2 separate regions of the Homo sapiens genome follow, and region 1 is linked to region 2. The links are contacts of gene promoters, found by promoter capture Hi-C in human tissues and cell types (Jung and others, 2019). All regions are on one chromosome and are shown on one strand. Each heading gives the region's core, a stretch centred on a gene start or on the middle of the fragment in contact. The rest is flanking DNA. Distances are from core to core; before and after follow the strand shown. Region 1 overlaps C8orf34 (chromosome 8 open reading frame 34). Region 2 holds the start of CPA6 (carboxypeptidase A6).

Region 1 (5,938 bases), core at 3,439-5,938, 590 kb after region 2:
CCCACCCCTCCCAGGGAAGGAGGGCTAGAGAACCAACGCGCGGGAGAGGGCGCCCTGGGATTCACTGGCATTCGCTCTGTCCCGGCCAGGTGTCCTGGAACGCGGCCGGGCGGGCACTTAGCCAGTTACCTGAACGCGGACAGGTGAGCTCGGGAGGGCCCAGCCTCAGCCTGGCAGGGGAAGTTTTGGCCCTCTGACTGTCCTGCACCTCTCAGCTACATGTTCAGGACCCGGGCAGGCTGAGGCAGGCGACGCATACGGATGCACACACTCAGACTGTGTTGCACACGCACACTTTCTTTTTTGAATTCACGCTATCTTGAGTGTTCGTGTTGGATTTTCTTTTTTCTTTTCTTTTCTTTCCTTCTTTTTTTTTTTTTTTTTTTTTTTTTTTTTAATGAGGGCGGTAATAGAACCCGAAAAGGTGGAGGAGGTGCTTAGCAGTTAATACAATTAACTGGAAGACAGCTGAACTGGTGAGGAGTAGGCTTCAGTCGGTGCGGGCGTGATGAATGAAATTGGCAAACTGAGAGACTGCCATTTGGTCACTGGACGAAAGGAGAGTCCTTTGCACTGCAGACCCCACATGTGTTAGCAGGAGAAAGGGACGGAGAAAGGTTCTGAAAAGCACACACGTATTTGTGGAAGAAGACTATAGCTCTGAGCTGGTTTTGTTTTTTTTTCTCTCTCTCGCCATTAAAGAATTTAAGACAAAAATACAGTAGAAGGAAGAGCGCGAGGACACGAGAAAATGAGAACAAGAGATTGAAGCCTGGCACCAGCAAAGCGTCCCGCGGGTTGCCAGGGTGCTGAGCAGGGGTGGGGCGTGCGGACCGTAGTCAGAAGTGGAGGCCCTTGCGGAGGGACTCCCTTGGTCCCATCCAGTTCAGGGGGCACTGACCGGCGGCGAGAGTTCGCGGGAGGGTCGAGGTGCTCCCGCCTTGCCCCCGCCTTGCCCCCGCCTTGCCCCCGCCCCCCACGTCTCCCAGAAGCAGTTGTAGCTGTTCTTAACAGCTTGGTTTGGGGTGAGGGCTTGGTATGGGGAGGAGGTTACGTGTCAGTGTCTGAGAGAGGCAGAATCGCGGCAAGTGGAAGGGGCTGCACTGGAGATCGCGGAAAACCTAGCAAAGACTGAAGAGAAGCAAGTGAGAACTGTGGAGAACAAAAAAATAATGCGAGTTAATGACCCTGCAAAAAAAGGGCGCGGAGGACAAAGGTGTGGTCCAATAGGTCTTTTGGGAGGACGGGTTTCACATAACAAGATTTGCAAGATCTCCTAAGTTTTTTTGCCCAACTTTAACGTTGATCTGTCTTAGACGATAAGACCATTGTTTCAATTGAAGCTCGCATTGTGGGGTGCAGAGTCCTACAATTGCTTTGATTCTTTTTTCTGCCAAAAATGTTAACAAAGGCAATCCATGCAAGAGCGAAATAAAATTGATGGAACTACCAGATTTCTTTTCTTTGCCTTTAGTTTAATGATTATTGATTATACATAATCCTATATAATTTTTTTAAAGGCAGAAGCCTAAAACCTTCTGCAACGCAGTGTATTAATTGCATCGAAAGAATCATAAAATACATACATTTAGAGTGTGTGTTTTCTCTCTACTCTCCTGGAGTATAAAGTACAATTAGCCTGGGAGAATAAATGAATTGTTTTTAATAAATACTGTTTTAATTTGTTATCTTAAAATCCCCAAGATTTTAATAATAATAAAATTAGGAATATATGTAAACTTTCTGCAGAATTAGAAAATAAACTCAAATGGATATTTATGAAGTGCCCCCTAACCCCCACCTTTTGATGCTCACCAGCAAGTTATGCGCTGAAGAATTTTAAGTGATAGCAACGTGTCTCATAAAAGCTTTAGGTCCCCTCACCAAAAAACAAGCACCACCATGCTTCGTATTTTATTGAATACATATGACATACACTGGCATTAGCTTAGATTGCAGTGATGAGTAGTGCATTTTTTAAGGTTTGATGTCCACTTTAAATAATTGAAGGGAGAAAAATGGATAATAAATTCTCTTTTAATAAAAGCTGGATGTAACACAGTTCCTTATGCAACAATTTTGATCATGATAGAGCTTGACTTTGAGAGTACAATTATACGTATTTCACAAAATTGGAAGATTTTACTAGCGTGTAGCCTACTTGTTTCATGTTAGAAAACCAGTGCCACCTGTGAAATGGACATTGTTGACCTAGAGACCGTCCATTCTCTTCTAGGACCTTACTCAATAGTTTTCACAGGAATTGATTTGGGTCAGAGGAGGTGCCCAGCAATCTGAACATATTTAGAAGCAGCACAAATGTTTGCTACAATTTTAATTTCTGGGCCACATTTTGAGAAACTGAGCTAAAATCTCCTTTTACCACTCACAAATTGAAATTGGCCGCTTCATGTCTTGTCATCTATGCTTTGTTGTGTTGAGTCAGTGTAGCTGACACAGGCTTCTTTCAGTTTGGAAAATATGCGGTATCTGATAATATGTCCCCCTTGTGGATAGTTTAAGTTAGGAATGTTTTAAGAAAACTTAATTGGTATGAGATACTTTAAAGATAATCTATGAATGTTTTTTAAAACAATAGCAAAAAGTAACCTATTCACTGATATTGAGAATACTTGATCCTCTTTTTTACCTGTAGGGCTTATTTACCTAGTTTGTTCACTTAGTTTATTTCTTACTTAGTTTATTGCTAATATTTTATGATTTGAGATGCTTATTAAAGTGTTACATGCAGTATGGTGTTTCAAAATTTATTTTAAATTGAAATTAATTTTGTTTCCAGCTGACTCAGGTGAATAAATTTGTACTACTTTTAAATTTCATTGAAGATGTTTTGGAGCATTACAAAACTATGCCTAAAAATCATTGCATTAGAATTCTGGACAATGATATTCTGATTAGATAATATGAAGGTGTAAGATGAAAAATACATTTCACAAACTTTCTAATTTTTGTAAGATGTAATGGTTTACATCTTACAAGATAAATATTTGTAATATATATAAATATTATATATAGTGGAATATATATATTCCATGTATGTTTGTGTACACACACATTTTATATAAAGAAATAGAAACTTTTGAGTTTCTCCCATTATTGATTGGAAGAGTGCTCAGGGCAGTTATATATCTTGGTTCAGGCCTGATCACACTCACAAGAGTGTGAAATCTTAAGTTACTAAGAAGCCAAATAGTGGGGATCTTCATAAAATCACCATGGAATTTTTAAATTTGTGTACTGAAGATGTGGCAAACAAAAGTCACTACATTTCTCTAAGTATGGTATGACCCACTCCAAATAGAATGGAATCACTATCACCTTCTCTGTTCCACTCAAAGTGCTTCTACTCACATGGTGTAAATTTGCATTAACTGATTTGGCATATATGTTATAAAATGGACTTATCAAACTTATGATCAAAGCCTGCATCACTTATATATTTTGCTGTTGCCCAGCTTGCTCTTCTCTGGTACCCCACGGCACTTCTTCCAGCCATGTATGCAACCCTGAACTCCAATTTGCTGCCAACCCTCAGCAAGCCCATTATTTCACTTTATTGACCTCCCTGATCATATCTAAAAAATGCTCCTTGCGTTTATCAGAGAGCTGTAGTGTCTGCGGAGATCTCCTTTCGTTGTTCCCCCTCTCATAAGGATCACAGCCGTGGGCTACCTGTTATTTAATACATGAAAAGAAATATTTTTGTCTAATTTAGGCAGGCTTATGATTGTTTAGGGCAGTTGTTTGGGGATAAGAAGGATACTAGTTACTCACTTATGGCCAGAGGTAAAATACCCCTCCAGAAAGATATTTTAATGTTTAAAAATAATTTGTCGTTAATAAAGGTAAAAGTGTCATTTTAATAAAAATGATTAGGAAAATGCTTTTATTAGAGAAGTAATAAAATATAAGCTTGGTAGTTATAATATGTTCAACTTAAATATTGTAAATATATTTTTTGGAGTAATGATTGTCAGGTGATCTTCCCCAGTGCTCAAAGTTATGAAGACTTTTCCTATATCAAAATTTGCATTAATCTTTATAATCTCAGAGCATTTAGAGGAGGCAGAAGACAAAGCAGTTCCATTTTATAAAATTTTGCCTAGAGTCCAAGTTAAGTGTTGTCATTGACTTACTTCAAAACAGTTTTTTAAAATGTTACTTTAATTAACATGTTTCTATTACCAGCCCATTTATTTTTCATTTCTGCCTTAATGTATTTTATTTTCATGCAGCTTTTAAATAGCTTAATAAAGTGACCCAAAATTCAATTCAATAAATCACTATATAACCTTAGAAATAGTAATATGTACATATACCAATATGGCATCAATAAATTTGAAAAAAGAAATAATATTTTGGGCAGGCATGGTGGTTCATGCCTGTAGTCCCAGCACATTGGGAGGCTGAGGCAGCTGGATCACTTGAGGTCAGGAGTTTGAGACCAAAGACCAGCCTGGCCAACACAGTGAAACCACATCTCTACTAAAAATTCAAAAATTAACCAGGCATGGTGATGCACACCTGTAATCCCAGCTCCTCGGGAGGCTGAGGCAGGAGAATTGCTTGAACCCAGGAAGTGGAGGTTGCAGTGAGCCAAGATTATGCCATTGCACTCCAGCCTGGGCAACAGAGGGAGACCCCATTACAAAAAAAAGAAAAAAAATAGTATTTTAATATTTGTGGGTCTCTCTTAAGAGAATGTGATCAATGGAAATATGAGACTACAAAAATAACATAGGCTTTCCTCCCTTTTTTTTTTCATAATTCAATTAAGAAGCCATGAACCATACAAAGAGAACAGCTAAGACTACAGCTAAGACCCATATGACAAGGAGAGCTAAGTTGGGAGTTCACCTGGAAAGTATCAGAGCACAATTAAAGAAAGGGGCTGAGTGGGCAGTGGCCTGGCAGGGTCAGAAGATTTGTTACGTACAAGGTGGGGGCAGGGTATTCAGAAAATAATTAAATATATTGAAAAAATATATATTCAAGTCAGCCTTCTTACTGATGGACATAGGAGTCACAGAGATAGTATAGGGAAAGCTAGAATGAACCTTGTTGTGTTGGATTGAAATTGGAGGTGTTGGTGTGATCTCATGACTTTCAATAATAGAAACAGGTATAGATGTAATAGAAACAAATATAGATTTGTATGTATTTACATATACTTAAGTGCATATACCTACATTTACTTCCCAACTCTGTCTACTGGAAGGGCCTGGGAATAACAACATCCTGGTAGCAATGAGCACACCTAGCATCCACATTTTGGTTTCTAAATACCATTCTCCATTAAGTAGAACCAGGTGTCCTTGAAGAAATGGTTGATTCCAGGTTTGGGGCTAAGCAAGGTTTGGAGTATCATATGTCAAAAAGTAAGGAAGAGCTCAAAGAATAGTAGGTATGTATCAAAGGACACAGAGGATGTGCCTACCCCTAAGACAACTTGAGGGTCAAAATAAAGAATGATAGTAACAGATTATTTTACTGAATAAAATAGGAATATTTTACTTCACTGGGATCTAATGGAATGTGGAATGTGCTTAATTCATGGGGAGAAGAGAAAACTTTACCTTATAGTAGAATGCCAACTAATAAAAGTAGAAGGATGATGGAATTAGAAAATTACTACTTGGCAACCATCTGAAAGATAATTCAGGCAAGAAACATTAATCAGTACTAAAATTAATGGGTAAAAGTTGGATAAACAATAAGATGTTACATAATCTCTAAGTATCTTCCTACAAAATACTTGTAAATTATAAAGGGAAAAAGTGACTTTACAGTAAAGAAACCTGGCAGACACTACTTCGTTCAAGTGATGGGATAAAGCAATATTGTATGCCCATGATAGGATGCATTTAAAACAACACAGCATTGTTTTGTGATTTTCCTGACAATCATGTATAACCTG
Region 2 (5,990 bases), core at 186-2,685:
ATTTCCTCTGTAAGCACTGTATTCAGAGGAACCCTAAAGGCAGTGCCAAGATTCTTTGGGAGAGAAAGAGAAATACAATTCTCTTTTCCAGGGTCACACTTACAAATTCTCTTTTACACTATTTCTAAAAAGAACAACTTGGTTTTAAGACACTGTACACTACCTTGTCATGATCCAGATCTACATGAAAACTTTTCTCAGGTGGTGATTATTGAATGATAGTAGCCTATTTAAAAATATGTAAGACACTGAGTTTACTCCTCTGTAAAAAGGAATTGAACTAGAGGAAGTATTTAAGGTTTTTCCAGATCTAAAGTGCAGGCAAGCCATAATTTCCAGATTCTAAGAACGACCCCCTGCATATGTGAGCAAATCACATGCTGTCTATACCACAGCAAGCCTTCAGGATAATAAGAATGTGCATAGTAACACACGGCTTCCAGCCCTCTGCCTCCTGAAGAAAGGCATATAGAAAGCATGCTTACCTACGGAGGGGGGACAAAACTGATTGTTTTACTCCTATGTTTTTCCTTCAGAAAAACTATCCATAATTTTACAGTTGACTACTTTTATTCTGCTTATTTTGAGTTGAATCATTTGCATTGCTCATATTTAAAAATCTAATAACCACTCTACAGACTAATAAGCACAGACAAAAAAAAAATCACACTCAGTTCTTAATCACTGATGAATTTCAACCCACCGCTCCTACATACAATTGTAAAGAAAGGCTTAGTTTTCAGGTCATAAATCATGTAGGACAACAGCATCCCCAAGCATCAACCAAGGCAAACACTGTAAATACTGACCATGGCTACTCCAAAGACAGAATCCCATTCAACCCTGGGTCCACAGCTAAGGTTGGCACATGATAAAAAGTATAAAAAGCCAGGTTGGAGCCCACCACATTCTCTCAGTGAGCTAAAGCCAAGAGCAGAGAGCTGTGAGTACATTTTATATAGAGGACCGTGAAAGTGTGCAGATTCACTCAGAGACCCCCAAATCAGAAAAAGTGAGGCACACTCTGGAGCAAACCAGCCCCCAGATCCAAATCAAAGCTGTGTAGGGCATGAATGTCGCTCCACTTACCCAGCATAGCGGTTGTTATAAAGGTGGCTGTGCCCCGGTTGCAGAATCTTCAAAAAGAGCCAGCAAAGAGGCAGGAAAGCAGCTGCCTGGCCCCTGCGCTTCCCGAGACACTTCATAGTGTTAAGAAGAGAGGAGTTGAAAGTTACTTAAGCAGCCACCCGAGGCTGGAGGTGGCTCACAGCACCCTCTACACACCGCACAGGTTCTCCGGGAAGGGGGTGGGCGAGGAAGGTTGAGAGTGAGCAAAATGTGACACTTCTCTCCAGCTACAAGGGAAAAAAAAAGTTCAGGCAGCTGAGGAAGGGAAGTTGCTATTACGACTTGGTCTTGGGACAAGCAGCAGCAGCAGCAGCAGCAGCTGAGCCTGATCTTTAATCAGGCTCCCCTAGAAAGGGCTGGGCCTCCCTCGTGCTGACTCACGGCAGGGGTTCACTGGGTGCTGCTTCCTTTGGGTGACTCCTCTCTGCTTTTGGTTTGTTTGCTTTCCCAACTTGAGGCCTCTAACTTTTCTGTGCAAGCTTTCTTTCTCTATCTTCTTCAGCATGAGGATCCTACCTAATTGCAAATGATTTGTCTGATGGGCTAAACAAGCAGACATGGATTATTCCAAGCTTAATGTTTTTTTGATCTCCCATGACAGATTCCTAAACGGATTCCACCTAATGAAATGCACAATGAACAATCATGATGAGAACGTGCACGGGGGTACCTATAGCACCCAGATCCGAACAGCTGGCTTCAGTTCACTGCTCCTGACTTACAGGAGTGGTCAGTGGCTTTATTGGGCTTCAGGGAGATCTTGGTACTCATTCTGCATCAGCAGCACCCAGACCTGCTGCTGTTTCAGAGGTTCTCGTGGGGAATAGGAGGCCTTCGAGTGCTTTGCCACCTTGGCTGTACATTTGGAATCATTTAGGGAGCCAGACCTTGAAAATAGAAACCGTGGTGGTGGGATCAGTGGTTTAAAAAGCTCCTTAGGTGATTCCAATATTCAACCACCATGCTGGTCTGGAGCAGGGCTTCTCAGAGCTCCACATGCATAGAAGTCACCTGGGGATCTCATTAAACTGCAGCTCTGACGTAGGTTGGAACAGGGGCCTAAGAGTTTTTATTTTTCTTTTTTGAGACAGAGTTTCGCTCTTGTTGCCCAGGCTGGATGGAGTGCCAAGTCCCCATCTCGGCTCACTGCAACCTCCGCCTCCCAGGTTCAAGCGATTCTCCTGCCTCAGCCTCCTGAGTAGCTCGGATTACAGGTGCCTACCACCACGCCCAGCTAATTTTTGTATTTTTAGTAGAGACGAGGTTTCCCCATGTCGGTCAGGCTGGTCTTGAACTCGTGACCTCAGGCAATCTGCTTGTCTCGGCCTTGCGAAGTGCTGGGATTACAGGTGTGAGCCACCACGCCTGGCCGAGTCTGCATTTCTAAAGAAGCTTCCAGGTGATGCTGGTGCCACTGGCTCTTCAGCCACACTTGGAGTAGCAAGACTTCACTTTAGAATGAGGTCTGCTTTTTCTTCCAAGCAAACCTTGGAGAAAACCATTTCCTTCTCTTTTTTCCCATGTTGATGATGAAAGCTTTTTAAAATTATTATTTGCATCCACTTGCTCCTATTCCAATACGCCACAAAACCCATTACAGGGGATGTGCCTCGCCCTATTAAATAAGCATAGGCACCTAGGGTGCCTCCTGTTACCTTTCATGCCCAGTCCTGGTTGTGCTCTAAAACAGAGAGTGAGCCACTATTTCCTCATCACACTCACAAAACTTTTCAGGCTTCCTGGAGAGTCATAGCCAAGAACTCCTGTACCCTCTAATACTATAGCCAGAGTCCCTGTTAGAAGAGAGAGCACCCAATCTTTCCCATCTTCTCTACCTGGGGAGTTGAACCAAAACTCCTTTGACAGATTCAATGTCAGGTTCATGAAACAGCTGAAATGGTTTTCATTTGAAATGATGCTCTGAATTTTTCTGCAACTTTCTCAGCATCAGTTTGGTTAATGCCTCCTCTGTGTCCCTCACAAATCCTGGCATGTCCTCTACTGTAGGAATTACCACATCAAATTTCTTGTCTGGTTTCCTCATGAGGCTGCTTTCTCCTTGAATACAGAACTGTATCCTTTTGGTCTTCCTGTGCACTTCCTTATACCTCCTCGAGGGAATACAATGTTTCCTGAAGGAGTGATCAACGATGTCTGTTGGATGAACGATGAACCAGGGAAGAAATTCATTTAACAAACATTAACATAGATGCTTCTGTGTCCAGATAGAGGAGAGAGCACCTTGGGAGCAGAGAACACTATGGGTGCTTTTGGAGAGTGGAAGTTCCCCGGGTGATCATGTCTGGTTTCGTTTCTTTTTTATGTTGCCTTCTTTCCTGACTTCCTGGCCTTGTACTTTTGTCTTCCTAAACTGGTCAGGCTGCTCTGCAAGACTCACAGCAGTACTCACAGGCCTTTTAGATGAGCCCAGGAAAGCCAATGATCTGTGGAAATAAGAGGTTACTGTGTAAATAAAACACTTCATCTCTTTGCATTTCGCTATGTCAGAACAATGTATAAATCTGTCATATTATATCACAACATTAAACTAGGAATGTTCAGTCTCTGACTGAGAATTAAACTCATCCTCAAATCATTCTGAAGGATTGGATCCCGCAAGCATGTTCGGCAGAGGCTCTCCAGACTCTGAGACCAAAGGAATCATTTCCTGGACCATCAAAAATGCCAGAAACTCCGGTGACATCCTGTAACCTTCCTAAAAATTTCAGATCAAAGAGAGGTTCTCAAACAATAGAAGCCATACCTAGCAATCATTCTCTGTTTTACTAAGGACCAGGTTATCTGATCAAACTTCTCTTGGAGTAGATAAGCTCCCATAAAATGAGAGATAAATGGAGTCCATTTAGCAAATGGGAGGAGGAGGGAACAGTTTTATAGATGAATTCAAAGATAAAAGTTCCATTTTTAAGGCACTGAGAGGGAGTGAATTATTAAACCAGCTAGGGATTTGGAGATGGGAAGATGAGAAGTTCTATTTATTGGCTATGCCTTTATCATAGTTTAGTGGAAGAGTGAACTTTATTAAAAGAAATATTACCATGCACAGAAAGAAATGAAACTACTTGGGAAAAGAAAATATCATCCTTGATTCGAGTCCATTGTTGATGATGAGATCATTTTTAATGTCTCTTCCAGAACTGAAATTCTATGATACCATGGAGGAAGATTTTGCAATTTCTTTCCTCAGGTATATGAGTGAGAGCTACATAGATTTACGTTGTTAAAGCTATCTGGAGAAGATAAACAGTGTGGTAGCACTTTCTTCAGACAAAAGTTGTACAGACATCCCTCCCGTTGCAGTTTGTGATCATTCCTCAACATGCTATTTGCATAGACCTTATCGCCTGTCACTTCTTTTTTATAGCGTTCTGCCACTATTCCAACAGGTAAGGAAACAGCAAATGTGAAGGTAGGCTACTGCCCCATGCGGTCTTGGCAAGTCTGTGAGGAATGTTCTGAAGCTTCCCTTAACAACACCTCACTGACGATTCCCTCCCAGCTGTCTTCAGCACCATCAGCTATCCTGTCTTGTTCCCGTGTCTTTAGTCTTTCTCTCATCAGCTAACCACAGTTCTTTCATCCTTAAACACAAGCCGCTTGGCTTCTTTTTTCTTTTTCGTTTCCCAGGCTTCTTCTTTTTTTTTTTTTTTTTTTTTTTTGAGACGGAGTCTTGCTCTGTCGCCCAGGCTGGAGTGCAGTGGTGCAATCTCGGCTCACTGCAAGCTCCGCCTTCTGGGTTCACGCCATTCTCCTGCCTCAGCCTCCTGAGTAGCTGGGACTACAGGCGCCCACCACCACGCCCGGATAATTTTTTGTATTTTTTGATAGAGACGGGGTTTCACCGTGTTAGCCAGGATGGTCTCGATCTGCTGGCCTCGTGATCTGCCCGCCTTGGCCTCCCAAAGTGCTGGGATTACAGGCGTGAGCCACAGCGCCTGGCCAGAAGTGCACTCTTGAACCTTGACCATGGCTTTGCCTCCCTACCACCCCGCTGAAACTTTCTCTCAAATATCAGCGGTGATTTCTAAGTGGAAAAATGTTTTGTTCTCACCCTACTCCACATCTGCATGGCTTCTGAGGCTGCTTGCCAGTTGCTGTTTGAAACTCTCTTCTCCCTTGGGCTCTGAGATATTGTCTTCTTCTGTTCCTGTCCTTCCTGGGGTTCCTCTCTAATTTCTGCCTGCTTAAATAGTAGACATTTTATGAGGCCTCTGCCTGCCTTCTTCTCTTCTTGATCCATTGCTGCAGATATGGTTTCTGGCTTTGTGACACTCAGTGCTGGTGGAGGGGCTAGGTAGTTACACAAACTCCTTGTTACATTTGGTGGTTCCATTAATCCTATAGGAACAAATCAGAGATGCTGTGATGCAAAGTTAAGAGGGCAGGTACGGATCGCATGTGTAGGGTGTTGGGAGGAAGTGGACGTCTAAACCAAGGATGAGAAGGAGCCAGTCATGCCCAGAGGAGGATGGTGGTGTGCAGGGAATAAGGGATGGGATGAGACCGTTGCAGGCACAGGGAGCAGCAGGAGCTGTCTGCCAGTGAATCTCGACAGGATGAAGAGTGGCATTCGGGCTCCTCAGCTTGGCATTCAAGGCCCTCGAAAACATTTTCATTTTTATCTTCCTCAGTATTCTCTGAAGACTCTGTATCCTCTCCAGCTGTGTCCTTCCTCTGTGTTTGTTTATGGTGCTTCCTTGATACCAGTGGCCATCTCCATTCAGCCTTTCTGTCTCTATCTGGCCAAATCCTTCCATCCCTGCCAGACCCAGCTCAAGTCAGTATCTCCCATGAAGCTGTTCCAATCCATTTCTATCTGCAGTGGTCACCTTCTTTGAGTG

Evidence for each region. Contacts are between HindIII fragments. The study calls those that stand out against the background at their distance.
Region 1: a contact is called between a fragment that was not itself captured here and the fragment with the promoter of CPA6 in region 2, in 4 of the 25 tissues and cell types used here (dorsolateral prefrontal cortex, spleen, stomach and 1 more).

What each region holds. Positions count from the first base shown.
Region 1 is chr8:68,331,417-68,337,354 of GRCh38, forward strand. All of the region lies in intron 1 of C8orf34 (chromosome 8 open reading frame 34), which reads left to right. It overlaps C8orf34-AS1 (C8orf34 antisense RNA 1), which reads right to left and starts at 75. Exons shown (of 3, transcript NR_038877.1): 1 at 1-75. The HindIII fragment of the contact is 3,576 bases long and covers 2,901-5,938 here.
Region 2 is chr8:67,744,925-67,750,914 of GRCh38, forward strand. CPA6 (carboxypeptidase A6) reads right to left here and starts at 1,436. Exons shown (of 11, transcript NM_020361.5): 1 at 1,090-1,436. The coding sequence starts at 1,205. RefSeq lists an enhancer at 1,262-1,762. The HindIII fragment of the contact is 6,623 bases long and covers 1-2,110 here.